Regions from separate parts of the Homo sapiens genome. Here regions 1 and 2 are each linked to region 3. The links are contacts of gene promoters, found by promoter capture Hi-C in blood cells and fetal thymus (Javierre and others, 2016). All regions are on one chromosome and are shown on one strand. Each heading gives the region's core, a stretch centred on a gene start or on the middle of the fragment in contact. The rest is flanking DNA. Distances are from core to core; before and after follow the strand shown. Region 1 has its middle 14 kb from the start of ZNF501. Region 2 holds the start of KIAA1143. Region 3 holds the start of ZNF660 (zinc finger protein 660).

Evidence for each region. Contacts are between HindIII fragments. The CHiCAGO score rates a contact against its expected background, and 5 or more counts as called.
Region 1: a fragment that was not itself captured here is called in contact with the fragment with the promoter of ZNF660 in region 3 in 1 of 17 cell types (erythroblasts); the score reaches 5.0 in erythroblasts.
Region 2: the fragment with the promoter of KIAA1143 here is called in contact with the fragment with the promoter of ZNF660 in region 3 in 2 of 17 cell types (erythroblasts and M1 macrophages); the score reaches 6.2 in erythroblasts.

What each region holds. Positions count from the first base shown.
Region 1 is chr3:44,741,322-44,745,082 of GRCh38, reverse strand. No RefSeq gene overlaps it. Among named protein-coding and RNA genes, the nearest start is that of ZNF501, 14 kb to the right of the region's middle. The HindIII fragment of the contact is 4,209 bases long and covers 1-3,615 here.
Region 2 is chr3:44,760,261-44,763,940 of GRCh38, reverse strand. KIAA1143 reads left to right here and starts at 2,322. Exons shown (of 3, transcript NM_020696.4): 1 at 2,322-2,446. The coding sequence starts at 2,339. KIF15 (kinesin family member 15) reads right to left here and starts at 2,147. Exons shown (of 35, transcript NM_020242.3): 1 at 2,057-2,147. The coding sequence starts at 2,075. RefSeq lists enhancers at 2,097-2,376, 3,167-3,680. The HindIII fragment of the contact is 21,704 bases long and covers 1-3,680 here.
Region 3 is chr3:44,583,651-44,587,649 of GRCh38, reverse strand. ZNF660 (zinc finger protein 660) reads right to left here and starts at 2,686. Exons shown (of 3, transcript NM_173658.4): 1 at 2,643-2,686; 2 at 1,437-1,545. It overlaps ZNF660-ZNF197 (ZNF660-ZNF197 readthrough), which reads right to left and starts at 2,686. Exons shown (of 8, transcript NR_147692.2): 1 at 2,643-2,686; 2 at 1,437-1,545. All of the region lies in intron 2 of ZKSCAN7-AS1 (ZKSCAN7 ZNF cluster antisense RNA 1), which reads left to right. The HindIII fragment of the contact is 2,337 bases long and covers 1,831-3,999 here.

The DNA.
Region 1 (3,761 bases), core at 262-2,761, 160 kb before region 3:
TTGATTCTGAGGGCTAAAGTGGAGATAGTAAAAACTGATCCTGGAACCTCTTGTGCCAAAAAATTAGGAGGTGTTTAAAAAATGATGAACGGCTGGGGGAGGTGGCTTACGCCTATAATCCCAGCAATTTGGGAGGCCAAGGCAGGTGGATCACTTGAGCCCAGGGGGTCAAGACCAGCTTGGGCAACATGGCAAAACCCCATCTCTATAAAAAGTACAAAAATTAGCAGTATCTAGTGGCGCACACCTGTAGTCCCTGCTACTTGGGAGGCTAAGGTGGGAGGATTGCTTGATCCCAGGAGGTTGAGGCTGCAGTGAGCTGTGATCACAACACTGCAGTCCAGTCTGGGAGACAGAATGAAATCCTGTCTCAAAAATATAAAAATGATGAAGGCATGTCAAAAGGATACAGGAGCCAACTAGCAGGAGTTACCAATGGCCAAATCTGGGGCAATTTGAACAAGGAATTAATGATAGTAGATAACAACTCATAAAATTCTTATTGATATAAACAATATATATATATTTTGAACACATGAGAAGGGCTAGGTCTTCCTTATAGTAGAATTTTAATAAAGTTAGGAGGAATTATGGAAATAGAAACAGTATTTGGCAAATTCCACAGTAAAAAAATTTAGCGGGCTGAATGATGGTCCCTAAAGACAACGGGTCTTGATCCTGGAACTTGTGAATGGTAACTTACGTGGTAGTTTTTGCAAAAGTGATTAAATTAACAATCTTGAGATAAGTGGATTATCCTGGATTATATAAGTGGGTCCTAAATGCCATTACACTCACACCTTTCCTTATAAACGACAGATAGAGGGAGATTAGGCACAATAGGAAATGTGAAGATGGAGGCAGAGACTGGAGTGATGTGGCTATAAGCTGAGGAATACTGGCTGCACCAGAAGCTGGAAGAGACAAGCAATGGATTCTCCCCTAAAGCCTTTGGAGAGAACATGGCCCTGCCAACATCTTGATTTGAGCAGAGTAGCTGATTTGAAACTTCTGGCATCCAGAATTCTGAGAGAATAAATTTCTGTTGTTCTAAGCCACCAAGTTTGTGATAATTTTTTATAGCGGCCATAGGAAACTAATACACAAGTGCTGTTGGAAAGACTCATCAAAGGATGCCAAAATTAGTGGCCAAAATTATGCTCAAAACCAGAGTATTTTCACAGTCTCAAAGTATCTCCCCACAAGACACTAATTACAAAAGAAAAACTAGTGACCAGGCGTGATGGCTCATGCCTGTAATCCCAGCACTTTGGGAGGCTGAGGCGGGCGGATCACAAGGTCAGGAGATCGAGACCATCCTGTGAATGGTGAAACCCCATCTCTACTAAAAATACAAAAAATTAGCCGGGCGTGGTGGCGGGCGCCTGTAGTCCCAGCTACTTGGGAGGCTGAGGCAGGAGAATGGCGTGAACCCGGGAGGTGGAGCTTGCAGTGATCCAAGACTGCACCACTGCACTCCAGCTTGGGGGACAGAGTGAGACTCTGTCTCAAAAAAAAAAAAAAGAAAAGAAAAGAAGAAAGAAAAGCTAGTAACATTACAGTGGAGAAACTAGGCAAATGTCACCTTAACTGCCTGATCAAAGTTAATATTACCAGTAATAAGTCATACTGATGCCAGACTCACGCCTGTAATCCCAGCACTTTGGGAGGCCAAGGCAGGTGGATCACCTGAGGTCGGGAGTTTGAGACCAGCCTGACCAACATGGAGAAACCCCATCTCTACTAAAAATACAAAATTAGCCGGGCATGGTGGCACATGCCTGTAATCCCAGCTACTTGGGAGGCTGAGGCAGGAGAATCGCTTGAACCTGGGAGGCAGAGGTTGCGATGAGCCTTTGCATTCCAGCCTGGGCAACAAGAGCAACAGTCCGTCTCAAAAAAAAAAAAAAAATGTCATACTGACATCATGACCTACTGATATGCACTGAGAAGGACACCTCACTCCCAAAGGCCACGAAGATCCTGCTAGGGCCTTCCTGATGTCCTTTTCAAGGATAGGGCACAAGGGCAACCGATGTCCAGTACTAAAGAGGCCAGAATCCTAGGGTATGGCAATGGCACATAAATGCCAATACAGACTCCAGGGCTTGTCTGGGGTCAAAAGGGTCAGTGTAAAGGTGTCAAATTATCCTCTCTTCTGAACGAGTCCTTTATTCTGAGATTATATCTTTCTTGTTTCTTTGAAGTTAAAATATACTTTATTTTATGAAATAATGATTTTGACAGGTGGTAGTTTATTGTACTTACTTTGCCAAAAGGTTGAAAAATCTATACCAGCGTCCAAAAAATATGTTGAAATTTACTGTCTGGGACTTCCAAACATCAAGTCCAAGTGTTGTCCAATAGAACATTCTGCCCTAGCCACCTATGGCTATTAAGCACTTGAAATGTGGCTAGAGCAACCAAGGAACTGAATTTTTCCTTCTACTTAATTATTTAAATTTAAATAGCCACAAATGGGTCGTAGCTACTGTGTTAGCGCAGTTCTAGGTATTAGTGGGATTTTTTTTTTTTAATTGTTAGGAGTCCTGCAGCCCACAAGGGATTCCCTCCCACTTTGTAAAGGTCAGAGGTGTTCTGATGTTTGACACAAAACAGCACAACATACAGTCATATCTGGCTGGATGGCTCAAGACAACCAGGGCCAGACAGTCACATTGGGAAGGAAGACACATGTCTGAGTTTCCAGGCGCCTGTTTCTGTGGCCCTTTCCCCACTCCTGGGCCTGCTCTCTCCCCCAGAAAGCAATAAACTCTACTATAGAAACTATCTTTCAACTGACACCTACTCTCACCAACCTATGGCTTCTCCCAGATCATGCATGGAGTCTTTCAGGGAGGAGAAAGAGCAGACAGAAGGCATCTGTCCAGGTTTGACGTTAGGAATCCTCCCCATTGGCCCCACAGTCATTCTTAGGCTAATGGCAGCTCTAGGTTTAATATGACTTAGGCATATATGGTCCTAGAAGCTGGGGTAGAAGGGACCATTTAGTATCATCAATTTGAATGTTGTCTTAGAAAGTGGCAATGGCTAAGACAAGCCTGGTCCCTGGAGCTGTTGAGGGACAGCTGACTAGGTTCTTTAGCTACAGGATGAGACCCTGAACTTTGTATTTTTAATCATTGTTTCCCCAAATTCTCCCATGCATAGCCATAACTTTTCTCGCTACTCAGTTGATCATAGCCTCTATTTTCTCCAGAGCCTAGATCCTTCTTAATCTGCGGTGTAGGGTCCTAGAATGCAAACCATCTTCCCAGTTGCTCTGAGACTCTCAATCCTTACCAACCTTCTCCATTCTGCACCAATCCAGCTGGACCAGTCCACTTTTCCCCTCACACCCTGTGCAGATGGTGGCTTGGCATCAGTTTTCCCTTTGCCCTTGCTTCTCCCTGAGTCATCAAGTCAACCTGAGTCTCTGGCACAAATGCAGCAGGACCGTCTGCCTCTCAGAGGAGATTCTCTGTAACCCCATAAGCAACGGAAGCTGGACTTGGCAGAATGGAAATGGTGATGGGCAAGGCAAAAACGGAGCTATGGCCTGGGCTTTGGGGCAGGTAAAGGATTTAAGGAATCCCAGCTGCAGGGGTATAAGCTTGGTGTCTTGACTTCTCCCTGTCACCTCATGTATCTAGTTACTGCTGTGCCTCTTTTGCAACTCAACATGTTCCCTGTCTGGCCTTGCAACTTCTGCCTTTCTCTTTCCAAATATCATCCTATTTTACTGACCTGGCGAATCATCA
Region 2 (3,680 bases), core at 1,073-3,572, 180 kb before region 3:
CAAGGCAGGTGGATTGCTTGAGTTCAGGAGTTCAAGACCAGCCTGGGCAACATGGTGAAACCCTGTCTCTACTAAAATACAAAAAATTAGCAGGGCATGGTGGTGCACGCCTGTAGTCCCAGCTACTTGGGAGGCTGAGGCACGAGTACTGCTTGAACCCAGGAGGTGGAGATTGCAGTGAGCCAAGATTGCGTCACTGCACTCCAGCCAGCCTGGGTGACAGAGCAACACTGTCTTTAAAAAAAAAAAGGGGGGAATCGTATATTTCACTTTTTCATTTCTCTGATTTCACAGTCAGCAACTCATGGTGTCAATGATGTCACTAGAGATAGCCTTCATGGGGCCGGGTGTGGTGGCTCATGCCTGTAATCCCAGCACTTTGGGAGGCCAAGGTGGGCAAATCACGAGGTCAGGAGATCGAGACCATCCTGGCCAACACAGTGAAACCCCGGCTTTACTAAAAATAAAAAAATTAGCTGGGCATGGTGGCGCGTGCCTGTAATCCCAGCTACTTGGGAGACTCAGGCAGGAGAATCTCTTGAACCCGGGAGGCGGAGGTTGCAGTGAGCCAATATCGCACCACTGCACTCCAGCCCGGCAATAGAGCAAGACTCTGTCTCAAAAATAAAAAAGAGAGAGAGAGATAGCCTTCGGGGCACAAAGTAAAAGTTGCAAAGACCACTGCACGGGCTCTCTTCTCCCATGTGTTCCCACTTCATGCTCCAGGCCTCTGGGCTGCTGGGAATGCAAGAAGCACTTTAACTGGGAAGTCATCAACCTCAATTTTGCCAACAAACTTAAAGGAGTGGAAAAGTTCCCCATGGCATCACCACCATCATAAAGGAGAGTGCTCCCACCACTTTAGAAAGGTTCTCAAATTTGGTTTTCAGACAAGAGCCCTCAGTCACATACATATATCTCATTAAATAAGCAGATGTTTTACTTATTTAACAGGCATCAAATTTTTTGCTTGAGTCCAGATTTAGTGACTGATCCATAAAGTGGAAACAAAGAACAAACAGTATGATTGTTCAGAAAGCAGGATGAACATTTCTCTCCAATAAGGTACCATTTTGTGAGCTCATAGTCCTTGAATACTGAAAATGATGAAAGGAAAAGGAATATTTTATATGCAAAAAGGTAGCATAAGGAGGTGTTCCGATTAGGTGTGATCGACCTAAAAGATTAATGAAACAACAAACCCATCAAAAACGACTACAATTGACAGAAAGCTAGAAACATTAACGGCGTTGGAAAGCTCAAATGACAGAAGTTCACAAATTCTTAATCATCTAATCCAGGCCTCTCCTCATTACCATTCAGACCACTCACAAAGATCCCATTAAATCAGCTCATAATCAGGTTTACAAAAATAAGACTCCTTAAGAGATGTGGCAATGTGAGAAGTGGAGCACGTACACAGGCACAGCAAATGACTACGTTAGTGAAAACTGTAGGGTTTATCATAAGCAAAATGACAGTGCTCTCCTCCGTGAAAAAGAGAAAGAAATCGGACGGGTCTCCTTTAAGTGAAAATAGAGACTGTGAGAACATAAAGACATTGCTGACATCTGTGTTTTAACATTCCATTTATTTAAGGAAAGAGGAGAAAGAAATGTTTGGAATATAAATAAACCCTTCCCTATAGGAAGGTCAGAAATGTAGAAATACGCAGAAGCTGGTGGGAGCAAAAGCCGATCCTGAGACAAGGATATCTAGAGAGGTAGCCCTGGTCGGGATGTGGGAAGAGGCCTGCGAAGAAACAGCAGAACCAAGGGAAAGAAAGGGAAGAACGTCAGGTCCACTGCTCATCCCGAGCGCCTAGAACTGCGCCAGACTCCTGGCATGCGCACAGGACACTGAAGGAAGGGATGAGCTTTTCGGCTAGCGTATTGTCTTTGAGCGACAGAGCGGGATTCCCAAACGTCCCCGCCGGTCACTCAGCTCCTGCAGTTCATGCCTAGCAAGAACCTTGCGGGCGGTCCGAGGCTGCCATCCTTTCACAGCTGTATTTGGGGGCAAAAATAGGGTAACGAAGCCGGGGGCCCAGACTTACTTTTGCAGCCGGGTGCCATAGCGCCCTCACCCCTCGATCCCGAAAACAATGCAGCCGGTGCCTCCACCTCCCGACTGCACCGCGCGCGACTGAATTCCGCCCGCTCAAGATGGCCGCAAATTTGAATTTGGCGCTTGGATCGGACGTTGACGCCCGCATGGAGGCCGCCATGTTGCCCGGCCTACGCATCGGGGGCGTGGCCCAGTGACGTCACAGCTAAGCGCCTCTGTATCGTCGCGAATCCGTCGCGGAACCTGTCTTCTGTCTTTACCCAGAGCTACCATGAGCAAGCGGAACCAGGTATCGTACGTGCGGCCAGCCGAGCCGGCGTTTCTGGCCCGCTTCAAGGAACGGGTCGGCTACAGGGAGGGACCCACCGTAGAGACTAAGGTGAGCCTTCGCCAGTCGTGTTTCTTCGGAAGCGCAGCCAGCCCGCCACTTTCAACTTTTGCCTCTACTTGGAGGGTGGGTGCTGTCGGGTCCCTCTTTTCACCCGCGCTCGAACCCAATTCCGGTGGAACTCGGACCCCCAGGCTGGTTCTTTTCAAGCGACCACAGCCCCCTACGCCCAGGAAGCTCTGTAGTTTTCAGAGCGCTGCTGTGTTCCTGAAAATGAACTGACGTGTAAACCACCTGGTCCTTGGTAGATGGTAAAGAAAGATCACTTTATTGTCTCTTCTTTCTCACTTGTTTACCTCAAAAGCTGTGAGTTCGCAGGGTGAGTTAGAGTTACAGCGTCGTCCCGTATTCCAGATAAGGACACAGGCCACTCGATCAAATGACCCCCGCCCCAACCATGTCCTAGGACTCGAGTCTGGAACGTCTTCGGAGGAATGTCCTGAATCTGTTTCTATGCTTTGTTAATTAAAAATAAATAAAAATAATATAGAGAAGGTCGGGCACAGTGGCTCACGCCTGTAATCCCAGTACTTTGGGAGGCCTAGGTGGGCGGATCACCTGAGGTCAGGAGTTCGAGACCAGCAGAGCCAATAGCCAATATGGTGAAACCCCCCGTCTCTGCTAAAAATACAAAAATTAGCCGGGCATGGTGGCACATGCCTGTAGTCCCAGCTACTCCGGAGGCTGAGACAGAATCGCTCGAACCCGGGAGGTGGACGTTGCAGTGAGTTGAGATGGCGCAGCTGCACTCCAGCCTGGACAACAGAGCGAGACTCCGTCTCAAAAAAAAAAAAAAAAAGCCGGGCCTGGTGGCTCACGCCTGTAATCCCAGCGCTCTGGGAGGCTGAGGCGGCAGATCACGAGGTCAGGAGATCGAGACCATCCTGGCTAAAACAGTGAAACCGCGTCTCTACTAAAAATACAAAAAATTAGCCAGGCATGGTGGCGGGCGCCTGTAGTCCCAGCTACTCGGGAGGCTGAGGCAGGAGAATGGCGTGAACCCAGGAGGAGGAGCTTGCAGTGAGCCGAGATCGCGCCACTGCACTCCAGACTGGGCGACAGAGCGAGACTCCGTCTCAAAAAAAAGAAAAAAAAGAAGAGTAAGCAGAAGCCGTAAATATCCTGGGTCTAAATAGAAGAAGAGGAGCTTCAGGAAAGAGCCACACCTGACTATTGTTGTCTAGGGCCGGAGGGATCAGTATTGAACACATGAATGACAAGAAAG
Region 3 (3,999 bases), core at 1,437-3,936:
CAGGACCAGACAGGAGATCAAAGAGGGCCAAATGAGGAGAGTTTGATCAAAAAGAAACCTATTTGCTCCCTTCTGTCTGATTGGATAGGAAATGCCCTCAGAAATCCTGGAAGAATTCCTAGGTACTAAGGAAGTAGGGTCTTGGCTGGAGAAGTTTGGAGGGAAACATGAGGCCACAGGCCAGTAGGACACTAGGGGTATCTAGGCAACTGTACAGAAAAGCAAAATCTCAGACAGCCAGTGAATGTATGAGGACTGATAAGGCCCTGCAGATCTCTAACCCACAAATCTCTGAGACTGGTAGGTAAGTGTTCTAATCCTAGGACCACCATCCATTTCAGGCTGTGAAAAATACATAAAGGGTAGAATCCTATTGAGAGAGAGAGAGAGAGGCTTTACTTGGAGGCTGTCTTCCTTTAATTCACCAGCATCATCTGCCTGTTCAAGTCCCTCTAAGCAATGGTTACATGGTTCTTGGTTATTGATTAGGTGCAGTGGAGTAAGGAATAAGAGGAAATACCTGAAAATAAATTCAAGGGATGGATAAGTGAAATGTAAACATTGCAAGAAAAAAAAAGAATTAGAAGAAAGGCCTAAGCCTCAAGGGAAAGGCTAACACCATGTGAAAAAGCTGATATATCTGACACATAAAAATTTCTGTATTCCAAAAAATGCCATAACAAATCTATAAAATAGAGTTTGCCTTATACTGGAATTGCTTGTGTGTATGTCTGTGTCCATCCTCAAATATATACATTAAGCTCTATGCCCTCAGAGAGCAGTTCCCATGAGATTTGCCTGTAGATACCACATGGTGTCTGACACAGAGAGGGCTCAGTCAGCATTGTTTGATTTGAAATGGTAAATTAAACAAGTTTAAGATTCTAACACCTGGAGTGCACATAGGGATGCTGAGAGCCAAATCCACACATCACTACTACCATCCCTCCTCTACATGTTTGTCCTTTTTGTGCTTCATATTATCTGGGAAACACCATAATGGTGTATTTGCATTCTTGGCAATTCTGTCTCAACAGAGTCATCCCAGGGACTAAATTCCCTAAGAGATTGACCTGGTCCCACTATTCAGAGACTCTCAGTATGTCAGAGCTGGAAGGAACCTCCCAGTCTATCCAGTCTTATATCCAAATGTACAGAAGGAAAACTTGGAACTTAGAGGAAAGCTGGGACTCAAATCCAAGTCCCATGACACCCAATTTTGAGTTCTACTACATCACCCTTATTCCCATCTGAAACAAAACTCTACTCCTCAAGGTCCAGAGGCCCCCTGCCCACTTCAGTGCTTTTCTCCTGTTTGATAAATACCACTGAGAGAAGCTCCCTTTCAACCCTGGTGCCCACAAGCAGGATTCCTGTGCCCAGACTAACTTCACAATCTAGGCCTCACCTGCCCAGGAGAGAATGGAATGACTCACCCATATTCCTGTGCACAGCAGCCTCAATCCAAAGGATCTGCACAGCACAGATCTTGCCTGATCTCCTCCTTGAGTTCAGTGAAGAAGTTCCTAAGAGGGTCTTGAGTCACTGTAAACAGATATAAATGACTGAGTTCTCTGAGCCCTGAATTCCAAGTGGACACTCAGGGCAGTGTCCCATCTTTGGGTAACTTCCCTTCCTATAGAACTGTGGGCAGTAAGAAGGATCATTTCCAGTGTAAAGATGAGGGAATGAAGCTCCCAGGGATTGAACGACTTGCCCAAGGTCCTATAGCTAGTGAGTGATTAAAAAGCCTTCTGTGTCTTCAGGAAATCCTAATTCCATCACACCACAGCCTCCCCTTTTCACCTGCTCCATTGATATCTAAAAGCTTCCATATTCTCATCTAACTGCAAAATACAATGCAGTGGAGAACTTCCTTGCAATCCAGCTTTCCACAGAAAGTCTGCACAAGGGGGATGAGAGGGAGAACTTTGCTGAGTCAAGTGTCTTTAGGAAGACAGAAAGAAACAAGTCTTTAAAAGAGCACTAGAAAAAGAATGTTCCTTTTTTCTGTTTACCCATTTCTTAGGATTACTAAGCCTCAAATATGTTTTGTGTTTCCCCCTCCAGATCCCCAGGCTCTGCTTCTAACCCTTGAAGTTTGTTTCATTTCTCCCCTACTAGAATTTAGTTCTGTCCTGTACACAACCATAACCCCAGGACCTAGCACACTACTGGGTTAGTGCTCAATAAATATTTGTTGAATGAATCAATGAATGAATGAGTAACCTTGGGCAAGACTCCGTCCTCTTCTCTGGGCCCCAGGTTCCTCACTGGTAACGGGAGGGATATTGGACTGGTGATTTGAGTCAAATACTCAGGGGCTGTGGAGTCCTGAGAGCCTAGGCGGGACTCGACCGCTACTACCCGGAAGGCCCACTGCCTAGGAGCGGGGACGACACAGTGCTGTCACCACGGCCAGCCTGGTCCAAGCGAGCAGCTACGAGGAGTCAGAGACTGGACCCAAGACAAAGGGGCAGCACTGAACGAGAGAAAGGGGAGGCCCACAACGACCCCTTGGCTGCCGCGCCCATCTCAGCAGCGGGCAGCCGCAGAGGAGCCCTGGCCTCCTGGCTTGCGTCTCCCACACGCTCCCAGAACCCGGCCCGACCCCCCACGCCAGACTGTAGAGCACCCCTCACCGAAAGCGCCAGACCCACATCTTGAACAAAGCGCAGAAGGAACTGCGTCAGCAACTCCCAGCTAACTCCCAGCCTGTCCCTCCGGCCCTTCTAGGCTTCGTGAGGTTTCCACATCTCTGTGCCCGCGGGCTGGAGTCCCCCCGCCCCTCAGAAGCCCCGCGCGGTCGGCCGACGCTCTGGCCCTGCCTCCCTTCCGGGCTTTGCCCTATCATTGGATGGAAGGGCTTGGCGACTTCAGCCAATGTGAGGAGGGCCCTGGAAGTGGTGGAAGCTGGGCAGGGGGCTTGGTTAGGGCGGAAAGAGACCGAGCATCTGGGTGGCCAGGCTGCCAGCCTCAGGCTGAGACTCCCTAAAGTTACACCCCCAGCTCCGGTTGCTGAGCAGAGAGGTCATCTTTCCTTCCACAGATCTGGGTCATTCAGCCTCAAAGCCAGGATCAGCTATGGTTTATTGGCAGCATATGAAAAGACGTTTTGGGTGCCTACTATGTCACTCACTGTTCCAGGCGCTGCGGATACAGTAGTGAAGAAAATGAACTCTCTGCCCCATTGAGTTTACATTCAAGTCAAGGAGACAATGATAAATAAATATGTAGAACGTAGCAGTAAGGGGAGAGAGGGAGTAAGGGGAGAGAGGGAGATAGTGGTGGGACTATTTTACAGATGACAGGGAGGGCAGAGACAGGAAGTGGGCAATTGAAGCATGTGGCTATCTGGGGAAAGAGTATTCCCATAGTGGGCCATTAGGAGCAAAATTCTTTAATCAGGAGTGGGGTGGAGAGGTGCACATTTAGGATCTTGTAGACTATGATAAGGGCTTTGGATTTGCTCTGCATAACAGCTGGAGGGCTTGGGGACAGAGGAACGACATGATCTAACTTTTTTTCCCTTACCACATATTCAAAGACTTGTTAGCTATGAGACATGAAAGAAGCCAAGAAGCCTGTTACTATAAATTCTGTGAATTCTTTGCTGTCTGTCCTTAGCCATTCTAACATAAACCTTGCATGAATTTTGCTCTTTGACTTATATTTTTAGTTTGCTTTGGCTGTCTTGTTGAGAACGGTCTGAAGGTGGGTAAGAGTAGAATCAGGGAGATTAAGAGGCCATTACAATATTCCAGATGAGGACTGATAGTGGCTTGGACAGGCTTAGAAGTGATGCAGGTAGTGAGAAATGGTTCTGCATATATTTTGAAGGCATGGCCTGCATGATTTGCTAATGAATTGAATGTTGGTTACTGATGACTCCATGGTTATTGATCTGAGCAACTAGCATGGGATGGTCTTTTAGAAATCGAGTAGCTTGAAAGGAACAGGTTTAGGGAGAGGGATTAATAGTTTTGTTTTGGATGTGTT